Linked DNA regions of Homo sapiens: region 1 is linked to region 2. The links are contacts of gene promoters, found by promoter capture Hi-C in human tissues and cell types (Jung and others, 2019). All regions are on one chromosome and are shown on one strand. Each heading gives the region's core, a stretch centred on a gene start or on the middle of the fragment in contact. The rest is flanking DNA. Distances are from core to core; before and after follow the strand shown.

What was found. The method cuts DNA at HindIII sites, captures the fragments that hold promoters and counts their contacts. A contact is called where the count stands out against the background at its distance.
Region 1: a fragment that was not itself captured here is called in contact with the fragment with the promoter of ZMYM3 in region 2 in 1 of the 25 tissues and cell types used here (pancreas).

The regions. Positions count from the first base shown.
Region 1 is chrX:71,637,374-71,642,085 of GRCh38, forward strand. No RefSeq gene overlaps it. Among named protein-coding and RNA genes, the nearest start is that of CXCR3, 21 kb to the left of the region's middle. The HindIII fragment of the contact is 8,298 bases long and covers 1-4,712 here.
Region 2 is chrX:71,251,643-71,256,876 of GRCh38, forward strand. ZMYM3 (zinc finger MYM-type containing 3) reads right to left here and starts at 2,498. Exons shown (of 25, transcript NM_201599.3): 1 at 2,387-2,498; 2 at 947-1,632. The coding sequence starts at 1,613. It overlaps LOC105373247 (a long non-coding RNA gene), which reads left to right and starts at 3,166. Exons shown (of 4, transcript XR_938434.2): 1 at 3,166-3,358. RefSeq lists silencers at 2,994-3,043, 3,064-3,113. The HindIII fragment of the contact is 7,971 bases long and covers 1-5,234 here.

The DNA of each region.
Region 1 (4,712 bases), core at 713-3,212, 390 kb after region 2:
GGCTCTTTAACAAGAGTCCCACTTACTAAGCATACTGCCAAGTTTGTTCACCAAATGAGTCAACAGGCTCCTCTCCATGCCTCTGTGCATGTGTTCCCATGTGCTCTGTCCTAACTCAGTTGCCTTATCCATTGGGAATCTCTTCCTTTCAGAAGCTGGCCTCAAACCTCCAATGCAGTAGTGACTGCTTCTTTTTGGGCTCCCACAGGACAGTCTGCACCAGCGTAGAATAGAATTTTGGATACCGGATTTTAATTTTTTTTTTTTTTTTTTTTTGAGACAGGGTCTTGCTCTGTCGCCTAAGCTGGAGTGCAATGGCATGATCTCGGCTCATTGCAACCTCTGCCTCCCAGGCTCCAGTGATCCTCCCACCTCAGCCTTCTGGATTGTAATTTTTAAAACAATTCTTTTTCCTCCACTTAAAGAATTCTTTGAAGATACAGGCTATCCCTGGTAGGTCTATATTCCCACCGTCTTGTAAGATTCTCAGTGATTCTCTCCAAGGACTTGGTTTCAGGCCCTGGGGCTCGGCTCCTCATTCTCCCAGATCACTTTCTTCTGGTCTCAGTTACCTCAGGCTAAGGGACTGGACTTAGAGATGACTTCAACACCAGAGGGGTGGCGCAGGCAGTAAGTCCTGCTTTCACTCAGCTGGATCAACAAAAGACACGATATCTGGACTGCATGCCTGTATCTGTCACTTCCTGTATGATCATGGACAGATCACAGTCTTTAAGGCTGTTTCTTCCTCAGTAAAATGAGCAAAATAATAATAGCTACCCTCAGAGACTGTTGTGTAGTTACTGAGAGACGAAGTGAAAGTGCTGCACTCTAATAACCTCCAAAGAACCATGTTAGTTAAATGTGGCACAGAAAAATAGATGAAAAAAAATTAAGTTCCTAATTTAGGAACTTGTTTATACATATTAAATCCTCTCTATTTCTTTCCCAGTCTTTAAACTAACTTCATGCTTAATTCTGCCTCAACCTGCCTTCATCTGCAGGACATTGTCCTCCCCTCTCCATGTCATCTTTTTTTTACCCCCTTCCCAGATCTTATCTCCAGTGAGAGCAAAGCACCATCTTCCTTTCATGACACAATCAACTCGATCTGAGAGTTACAGATCTGATCAAAGCTCACCTCCTCCATTTCCTAGCTGCGTGACTTTGGACTGGTTACTTAAATTCTCAGTGCCTCAGTTTTTTCATTTCTATGGCCTATGTATGTGATGAGGATTAAATGAGACCCTATAACTGTTCCTTTCAATTTCAGTCATCTCCATCTTGACTCTCATTCAGCCTCCCACACATTTAATCGCACTTAGGATGCCTTCTTGTTCACTCAATCATTGTTTCGTTTTCAAGATTTTAAACTTGGAAATCCTCTTATTTGAGTATAACCTCTGGTTCTTCTTCTTTTTTTTCTTTGAGACAGAGTTTTGCTCTTGTTGCCCAGGCTGGAGTGCAATGGCATGATCTCGACTCACTGCAACCTCTGCCTCCCAGTTTCAAGCGATTCTCGTGCCTCAGCCTCCCGAGTAGCTGGGATTACAAGCATGCACTACCATGCCAGACTAATTTTTTGTATTTTTAGTAGAAACAGGGTTTCACCATGTTGGCTAGGCTGGTCTCAAACTCCCGACCTCAGGTGATCCACCTGCCTTGGCCTCCCAAAGTGCTGGGATTACAGGCGTGAGCCACCTTGCCCGGCCAACCTCTGGTTCTTTCAATTCTCTTCCTTCCACCAAACTCACTCTGTCTCTAGCTTGGGTTCCAGCCCCTTGAACCATTCTCATTCTCCCAGACCATCTTTTTCTGGTCTCAGTCACCTCTCCGCCAAGACAGAACTTCGTGGCCAGACGTTTCACTGTGCGCTCACTGCTACTTTGCATTTCTACACTCCCTGTCTCTGGGTGGTCTCCAGGCCCAGATAACCCCCTGCTTACTGTTTTAACTTCCAAATGTCCAAGTTTGCAGGAGAAAAAGTCCTTCCCTCTTATGCTATGGGACCACTCTCATTACCAGAAAGCCTCTCTGCCTCTCCTTGGCCTCCTGCTGTCATGGCTGAGGAAGAATCATCCCCTTCCTTGCCAACAGTGTCCTCTGACTCTCACCCCAGAGCACTACCTCCAGGCTTTGCTCCAACCATGATCTTACATTTCATTTGCCTCTTCAGTTGTTCTTTCTACATCTCCTTCCCCTCTGCTTATAATACACTCAGATCTCCTCCATTCTATAGACACCTCAGCTCCACGCCAGATACCACCCTATGCTGACCTATTCCTTCATTAAACTTTTTTTTTTTCAAGACAGAGTCTCACTCTGTCACCCAGGCTGGAGAACAGTGGCACGATCTTGGCTCATTGCAACCTCCACTTCCTGGGTTCAAGTGATTCTCCTGCCTCAGCCTCCCATGTAGCTGGGATTACAGGAGCAAGCCACCATGCCCAGCTAATTTTTGTCTTTTTAGTAGAGACGGGGTTTCACCATGTTGGGCAGTCTGGTCTCAAACTCCTGACCTCGTGATCCGCCCGCCTCAGCCTCCCAAAGTGCTGGGATTACAGGCATGAGCCACCTTGCTGGCCCATTAAACTCTTTCAAAGGATAATCTATACATGCTCCTCAACCTGCTCACCGACTATTCACTTGTTAATCCCTTGCAATCTGACTTCTACTCCCACCACTCTACTTGATCACCAACCTAACAACCACTAACATGATGACCTCTCGGCTCCCAAATTCAGACGGCAGTCTTCATCCTCTGTCTAGCACTTGCCACCCTGGCCCACCTGTCTTTTTTGAAACACTCTCCTTCCTTGATCTCTACTGCTGCTTTATTGTGGTTTTACCTCTGTCTATTCTCTTCCTCAAGCATGGTGCTCCTCCCTCGACACCACTCACTTGGTGAGCACCTCTACTCTCATGGTTTTGATGGGGCCTTGGCAGACTTTTCCTAAATATCAGAGAGTAAATCTCTTTGGCTTTGTGTGCCAAGAGGCAAAATCAAGGCAATTCTGTAGGTCTTTATATAAACATTTAAAATGTAAAAACTGGCCGGGCACGGTGGCTCATGCCTGTAATCCCAGCACTTTGGGAGACCGAGGTAGGCGGATCACCTGAGGCCAGGAGTTCAAGACCAGCTTGGCCAACATGGAGAAACTCTGTCTCTACTAAAAATACAAAAAATTAGCTGGGTTTGATGGTGTGTGCCTGTAGTCTCAGCTGCTTGGGAGGCTGAGGCACAAGAATCACTTGAACTTGGGAGGCAGAGGTTGCAGTGAGCTGAGGTGGCACCACTGCATTCTAGCCTGGGTGATAGAGTGAGACTCTGACTCAAGAAAAACAAATATATATATATATATATATATATATATATATATATATATATATATATATGTCTCCTGTTTTCAGCTTGCAAGCCATCTAAAAACAGGTAGTTGGTTTGATTTATCCTATGGGCTGTAGTTTGTTGATCCCTAGTTTATTTATTTATTTATTTATTTTATTTATTTATTTATTTTGAGATGGAGTCTCAGTCTGTTGCCCAGGCTGGAGTGCAGTGGCATGATCTCGGCTCACTGCAATCTCCACCTCCCAGGTTCAAGCGATTCTCCTGCCTCAGCCTCCTGAGTAGCTGGGATTACAGGCTCGTGCCACCACATCCGGCTAATTTTTGTATTTTTAGTAGGGGGGGTGGTTTCACCATGTTGGTCAGGCTGGTCTCGAACTCCTGACCTTGTGATCCGCCCACCTCGGCCTCCCAAAGTGCTGGGATTACAGGCATGAGCCACTGCACCTGGCTTGTCGACCCCTAGTTTCAATCACCACCTCTAAAGAGAAAACTCCCCAATTGGTACCTTCTCACCTCTTTCTAGAATTCCTGACCTGTGCTTCTAATTGCCTACAGGGCAGCTATACTTGCTCTCCTACACTCACCTCAAATTTAATATGTTCGAGGCAAAAATTTCTCTCTCCGCAAATCACTTCCTTTTCCTGAATTCCCTATTTTTGCTAGTGGTGCCATAATTCTCTCAGTCACTCAGGTCTAAAATCTGTCACGTCTGCCTTCTTCTTTCTCTCTAAACTATTGGTGGTGTTACTTCCTAAATGTCTCTTGAAAACTTCACCTCTCCTCCAGTCCATAGTCTGTTGTGGTCCAAGCCCCCAGCATCTCTTGCCTGGACAACTGTCACAGGCAAGATGACTTCCTTTTTTCCAGAGTGGAGATAGGGAGAATTCACTGGTCTCCCTATCTCCACTCTGTGCTCCCATCTAATAAGACGGGGGTTTCACCATGTTGGCCAGGCTGGTTTCGAACTCCTGAGCTCAAGGGATCCACCAGCCTCGGCCTCCCAAACTGCTGGGATTACAGGTGTGAGCCACTGCATCAGGCCCTTTAGGAGGTTTTTGATTATTGATTCAGTCTCCCTACTATCGGTCTGTTCAGATTTTCTGTTTCTTCATGATTCAGTTTTGGTGGACTGTGTATTTCTGGGAATTTACCAATTTCTTCTTGGTTATCTAATTTGTTGGCATACAATTGTTCATAATTTTCTCTTAAATTCCTCTTATTTCGGCCGGGCACAGTGGCTCACGCCTGTAATCCCAGCACTTTGGGAGGCCGAGGTGGGTGGATCATGAGGTCAGGAGATCGAGACCATCCTGGCCAACATGGTGAAATCCCGTCTCTACTAAAAATACAAAAATCAGTT
Region 2 (5,234 bases), core at 1,248-3,747:
CTCACCACCCTCTCCCCGGCCCAACCCCCGCCTCCATTCCTGGGGAAGAACTTACTCAAAACTGAAAGGGAAAACTCGAGTGCCTGTGGCTTCTTGGGGCCCCTCTCAGGGTTACCTCAGGCTCTGTACTAAGGGTGGGGGGGTGCACGTGCAGCTATTCCATGAAAAAAAAAAAATCTATCCTTCCCACCAGCTTTCTGTCCCAATCCTTGGGGGTTAAGGAAACACAGGTAATATACCTTTCATTAAGAATTTATATTTTACCAATGAAAAACACACACAACCACCCAAAGGTAGCAAAAGGAAAAGGAAGCATCAGTGTATGGGTAGCTTCCCCTGGATTCAGGTGGTTATATAAGCCCTAAGACCCTCGTCACAGCCTGATAGAGGCACACCACTAGGCAGAAGAGGGGAGACACTAGAGCCTCTCAAGTCAAGGTTGTCCCTCCCCTATCAGAGACGCAATCCTAGACCCTGCATTTCTATCGCTCTGCTGAAATCCTTATGCTGTTAGGGGCTCCAGAACCTAGTTACCATTCATCAAACCCAGAAATCCCACTCCCATCTAGAACCAAAAAGCTGTAAAGGTCTTAGAACCAAGAAGCCTGGTGTACTCCCCCAAATCCTGAAGGAAGGACTCTGGCACCAAAAGCCCACTGGGGTAGGAAAAAGGGAACCCTTCCCACCAAATTCACTCCTCCCAACCTACGCTCCCTGAAACCTTACCCCATTCCTCCCCCACAGCCTGTGCCCACCCCTACTTTCCTTAATCTTCCTCTACACACCACCCCACTCCTCCCTCGTAAACCCCAAGTCCTTCCCCACACACATCCCTACACTTATCTCTCCACCCTCCTCCTCCCCACTACTTCCCAAAGCACATAGCCACCCCTCCTTACCACCACCCTCTCCCAGCCCTGATTCTCCAGATAATTAGGCAACCTACCTGGCAAGGAAGGATGTGCAGGGGGGCTAGAGCCCCCAGGTTTGGTCTGAGAACTGTTGATTCCATCCCCCAGAGTCTCTCCCACTGAAGGGCTAGGCGGGGCATTTGGGCTCTGTGGCTGCCCTTGGGGAAGCTCCTCCTCCTGCCCAGGGGAGCCCCTTCTTGCAGTAGCTATGGAGGTGGTCTCCTCCTCTTCAATATGTGGGGACTGCAGTGTTATTGGAGAATCTGGAGCCAAAGGCTCTAGTAGCCCCTCAGGTGAACAGGAATTTGCCCCAGCCCCTGGATCAGGTGGTACCACCTCAGGGGTCTGGCCCCCTGGTCCAGGCTCTAGGGTCTGATCTCCTGCATCCCATGCCAGGGTTCCCTCAGGACCGTGGTCCACCTCCGGGGGAGAGGGGGCTTTATAGAGCAGCCCCCCCAGCCCCAGCAACTCAGTGGCTCCATCCAGGACTCCAGGGTCTTTTTCCAGGCCAGCAGGGGTATCAAGCAGGTCCAGGGCTCCCGAGGATGGAGAAGGGCCAGGGGGGGCCCATCCTCGAGTTGGGGCAGTCTGGGATTCCAGTAGATCCTCTCCAAATTCCATGTCTACTGGTAGGTCTCCAGCCAGGGGCTTCTCTGGCAGGGTCAATGGGTCAAATGGACTGGGGAAATCACTGGGGTCCATGAGTATGGCTGGATATGTACTGCAGATTAGGAGTAGAAGAGGGGGCAGTAGAGGTGGTCTTAGCCTGAATTCCTTCTTATATAGGCTCTGAGACACACCCCATCATCCACTTGGATTTCTCATGAGCAGCCCCCACCACCACAATCTACAAGCATTTCCGAAGGCTTTAGTCCTAATGACCACTCCCCCCAATACAGCGCCCCCAGTGGGGAGAGGCGTTCCCCGCCCTGGCCCCGTGCCCACACTGGCCAGGCAGTCGGTCGTTCTACCCGCCCACCCCCCTACTCGACTGCAACTCCCATTCCCTTCCCCCCTTACCTTTTACCCCCCGCAACTCAGGCTGAACGCCCCCTTAGAGTCTCCTAAGGCCGTCGCCACCAGGAGCCTTTCCCGCCCCCGCGATCTCAGTTTCTATTCCCTCCCCACTCTGCAGGAGCCCCCCAGCTCCCCAGTCTTTACCCACCCTGTCTGGCCCCACCCCCCCTCCCCGCGTTGCTAGGTCCTCCCTCGGCCCTTCCCCCGCCCCCACAAACTGCCCTTCGCAACCCCTTCCCCCCAGTTACCTTTCAGGTCGCCCACTTCCTCAGCCCCGTCCCCCTTTCCCATTGCTCCTCCAGTCCTCCCTTCTCCTGTTGCCCACCCCCAACCTCAGGCATTTACAGGAAGACATTTTGGAGCTACGATCTCTCCTTAGACCCCCCCACCACCGCCTCCCGGCTACTGCAAGATCCCGCTTGCAGGTTCGGTTCGGCTTGAGCAGGCCCGACCCCTACCTGCGGCAGGGTTAGTGCAAAGGCTACAAGCCTAGAACTGCAGACAGCGACGGCCCCGCGCTCCTTCTCTACCTCCCTCCCTAGCAGCCGGGACAGGGGTCGCGGCCCCTTTAAATGGCAGCGCCGCTCGCAGCGCCCAGCGCTCTGCACCAGGCGGGCGGGCGGTGCCAGCAACCAACCCCATTGGCTGGCTCGAGGAGGGGGCTCGCGAGACAGCGCCGGCCCCCGGCGCGAGACTCCCAGTCCAGTGGCCGCCTGGAAATTGCGGAGTGGAATGCAGCCACTAGAGACGGCGCCTGAGCCCCCGCCCGGGGCCCCGTTAGTTGAGAAGGAAAAGATAGCCTCTGGAGCTTTGAAGCCGGCCCCCCGGGAAAGGCGGCGTCCCCTTTCCACCCAAGGGCCGAGTGCGCTCACCCACAAAAAACACAGATCTACGCACCTGCTCCCCTTACCTGGCTCAAGAGTCTGGCCCCCGTCACACCCTGCTCGCCCTACCTCCTGGAGCCCACTCTACCCGTGATCCCCTCCTCTCATTCAAATGGTTCCCGGTCCCCTCCCCCTCCCCGTGTCTCTCTTAGCTTCCCACTCGTGTTCACCCCCTCGGCGTCCGCCCCCCTCAATAGTCCCTACCTACGCCATGCAGCAGGCGCCTGCCAAGATTACCCTCCCCCATCCCCACCTCTCCGGGTCCCGCCCCCTGGGCGACTGTTGGGGTAGTGAGTGACAGCGGAGGACGGGGGGAGGCAGGGACCCAGCCCTCACGTGCCCCTCCTTCCCTTGTCTGCAGCCACGGGGCCCCCAAAACAGTCTGAGAGTCAGAGTTATGGGGTATCTGAAGCTTGATCCCCAGCCACACAGGTCGGGTTAAATGGCTCTGGCTCAGTGGCAACGCCTGTGCAGTAACCGTTACTGCTTGATGACCCCCAAACCAGGTCCTGCAAAGCTACCCCCTACTCTCTCAACAGTCTTAGGGTAAGTTCTGGGATCTTCTCCCTGAGTCTTCCTGCAGGAGCTCCCTGTATTATCTATGGAGTTTTCCTCCCTCACCAGGGCTGATCTCTCTCTCTCTCTCTCTCTCTCTCTCTCTCTCTCTCTCTCTCTCTCTCTCTCTCTCTCTCTCTGTATCTCTCTCTCTCTTTCTCCTCCAGCCCCCTTTCTGTCCTTGTCTGTCTCTCTCTTCTCGCTCTCTCTCTCTCTCTCCCCCTATCTCTTTTTGTCTCCTTCTCTGCCTCTCTGCTTCTCGTGCGCACGAGCACGCAGGCGCGCTACACGCTCCCCCCTCCTGGATGGTCCTTAGCATGTGGGTGTGGCTGAGGTTAGGCTAGAGAAGTGGAGTAGGGGTAGGTGGCACTAGCGTTAAGCCTACTGCCTTTAAAAAATTGTGCCAGCATCCATTCTCAGTCCGCATTATATTAATAGTTAGAGCACTTTACAATCCCCGCTCCCCACTTCCCACCACAGCCCCTAAGGGCTGAGAGCATTTAGTAGCCGAACTACTAGAGGAGGCTCAGGCTGGAAGGAAGTCTCCTTAGGAACAGGAAGGTTTGGTATCCAGTGCCTATTCTAGCCTGCCTCGTTGACTTCTGGCCTCTCCTCCTGGCCACACAAAGCCTCTCCTGCTCTTGTAGTCCTCGGGAGTTTACCCTCCCTTTTCTCATTCCTTTTCCCAGAAACCTTATCCTTGCTAGCTCCCCACATGGCCTTGAGGTTATCTTTGCTCCCTCCTACATACAGAGATAAAAGCCAGAGTTTCTTACTTTTAGATTTCCCAAATCCAGCTTTCTCTTTGTCTTAACCAGCATTCTGTGTACCCATCTCCTACCTCCTGTTTATTTCTATTCCTGGACCTCCCCTTTGCATTTTCTGCTTGTTCCATCTCAGTTGAGCCACCTAGTTTTTTCTGTATTGCCTGCCTTCCTCAACATATACTTGAATCCTTGGCTGCTCTGCTTGTGGAGGTGCCTGGTCACTATCTTTCAAGTTGAGGGGAGCTGATCTAACGGGGTTAAGTGGTGTGTTATTAATTCTAGACGCAGTGTGGTGGCCTAAGAATGGGTTCTGGAGTCAGACCAGATTTCTAATATCAGTTCTGCCTACTTTTTAGCCAGGTGACTTTGGACAAGTGACTTGTCAAGTGAAGGGCCTTAGTTTTCTCCTCTTTAAAACAGATAAGGAAACAATCTAAATGCCCAATAATAGGGGATTTTGGTTATGCAACAGACGTAGTCATTAACAACCACATTTTAAGTCTGGCGCAGTGACTCACGCCTGTAATCCTGGCACTTTGGGATGCCAAGACGGTTGGATCCTTTGAGCCCGGGAGTTCCAAACCAGCCTGAGCAACATGGTGAAACCCCTTCTCTACAAAAAATACAAAAAATTAGCAAGGTGTGCTGGTGTGCACCTGTAGTCCCAGCTACTCAGGAGGCGGAGGTGTGAGGATCACTTGAGCTGGGAGGCAGAAATTGCAGCGAGCTCAGATGGCGCCACTGCACTCCAGCCCGGGGCGACAGACGAGGGCTCTGTCTCAAACCAAACAAAACAAAACCCCACATTAAAAAAACAAAAACAAAAAACAACTAATGGCAGACAGCACAGAGGATTTTTACGGTAGCGAAAATACTCTCATGATACTGTAATAGTGGATACTTGTAAGTATACATTTGTTCAAAGATACAGAATGTAAACACCAAGGGTGAACTAACTCTAATGTAAACCGCAGGCTTTGGTTAGTAATGATGTGTTAATGTAGGTTCATCGATTTTAACAAATTTACCACTCTGATAGGGATGTTGGTAGTCAGGGGAGCCGTGACTGCATGGGGGAAGGAGGTATATGGGACTCTCCG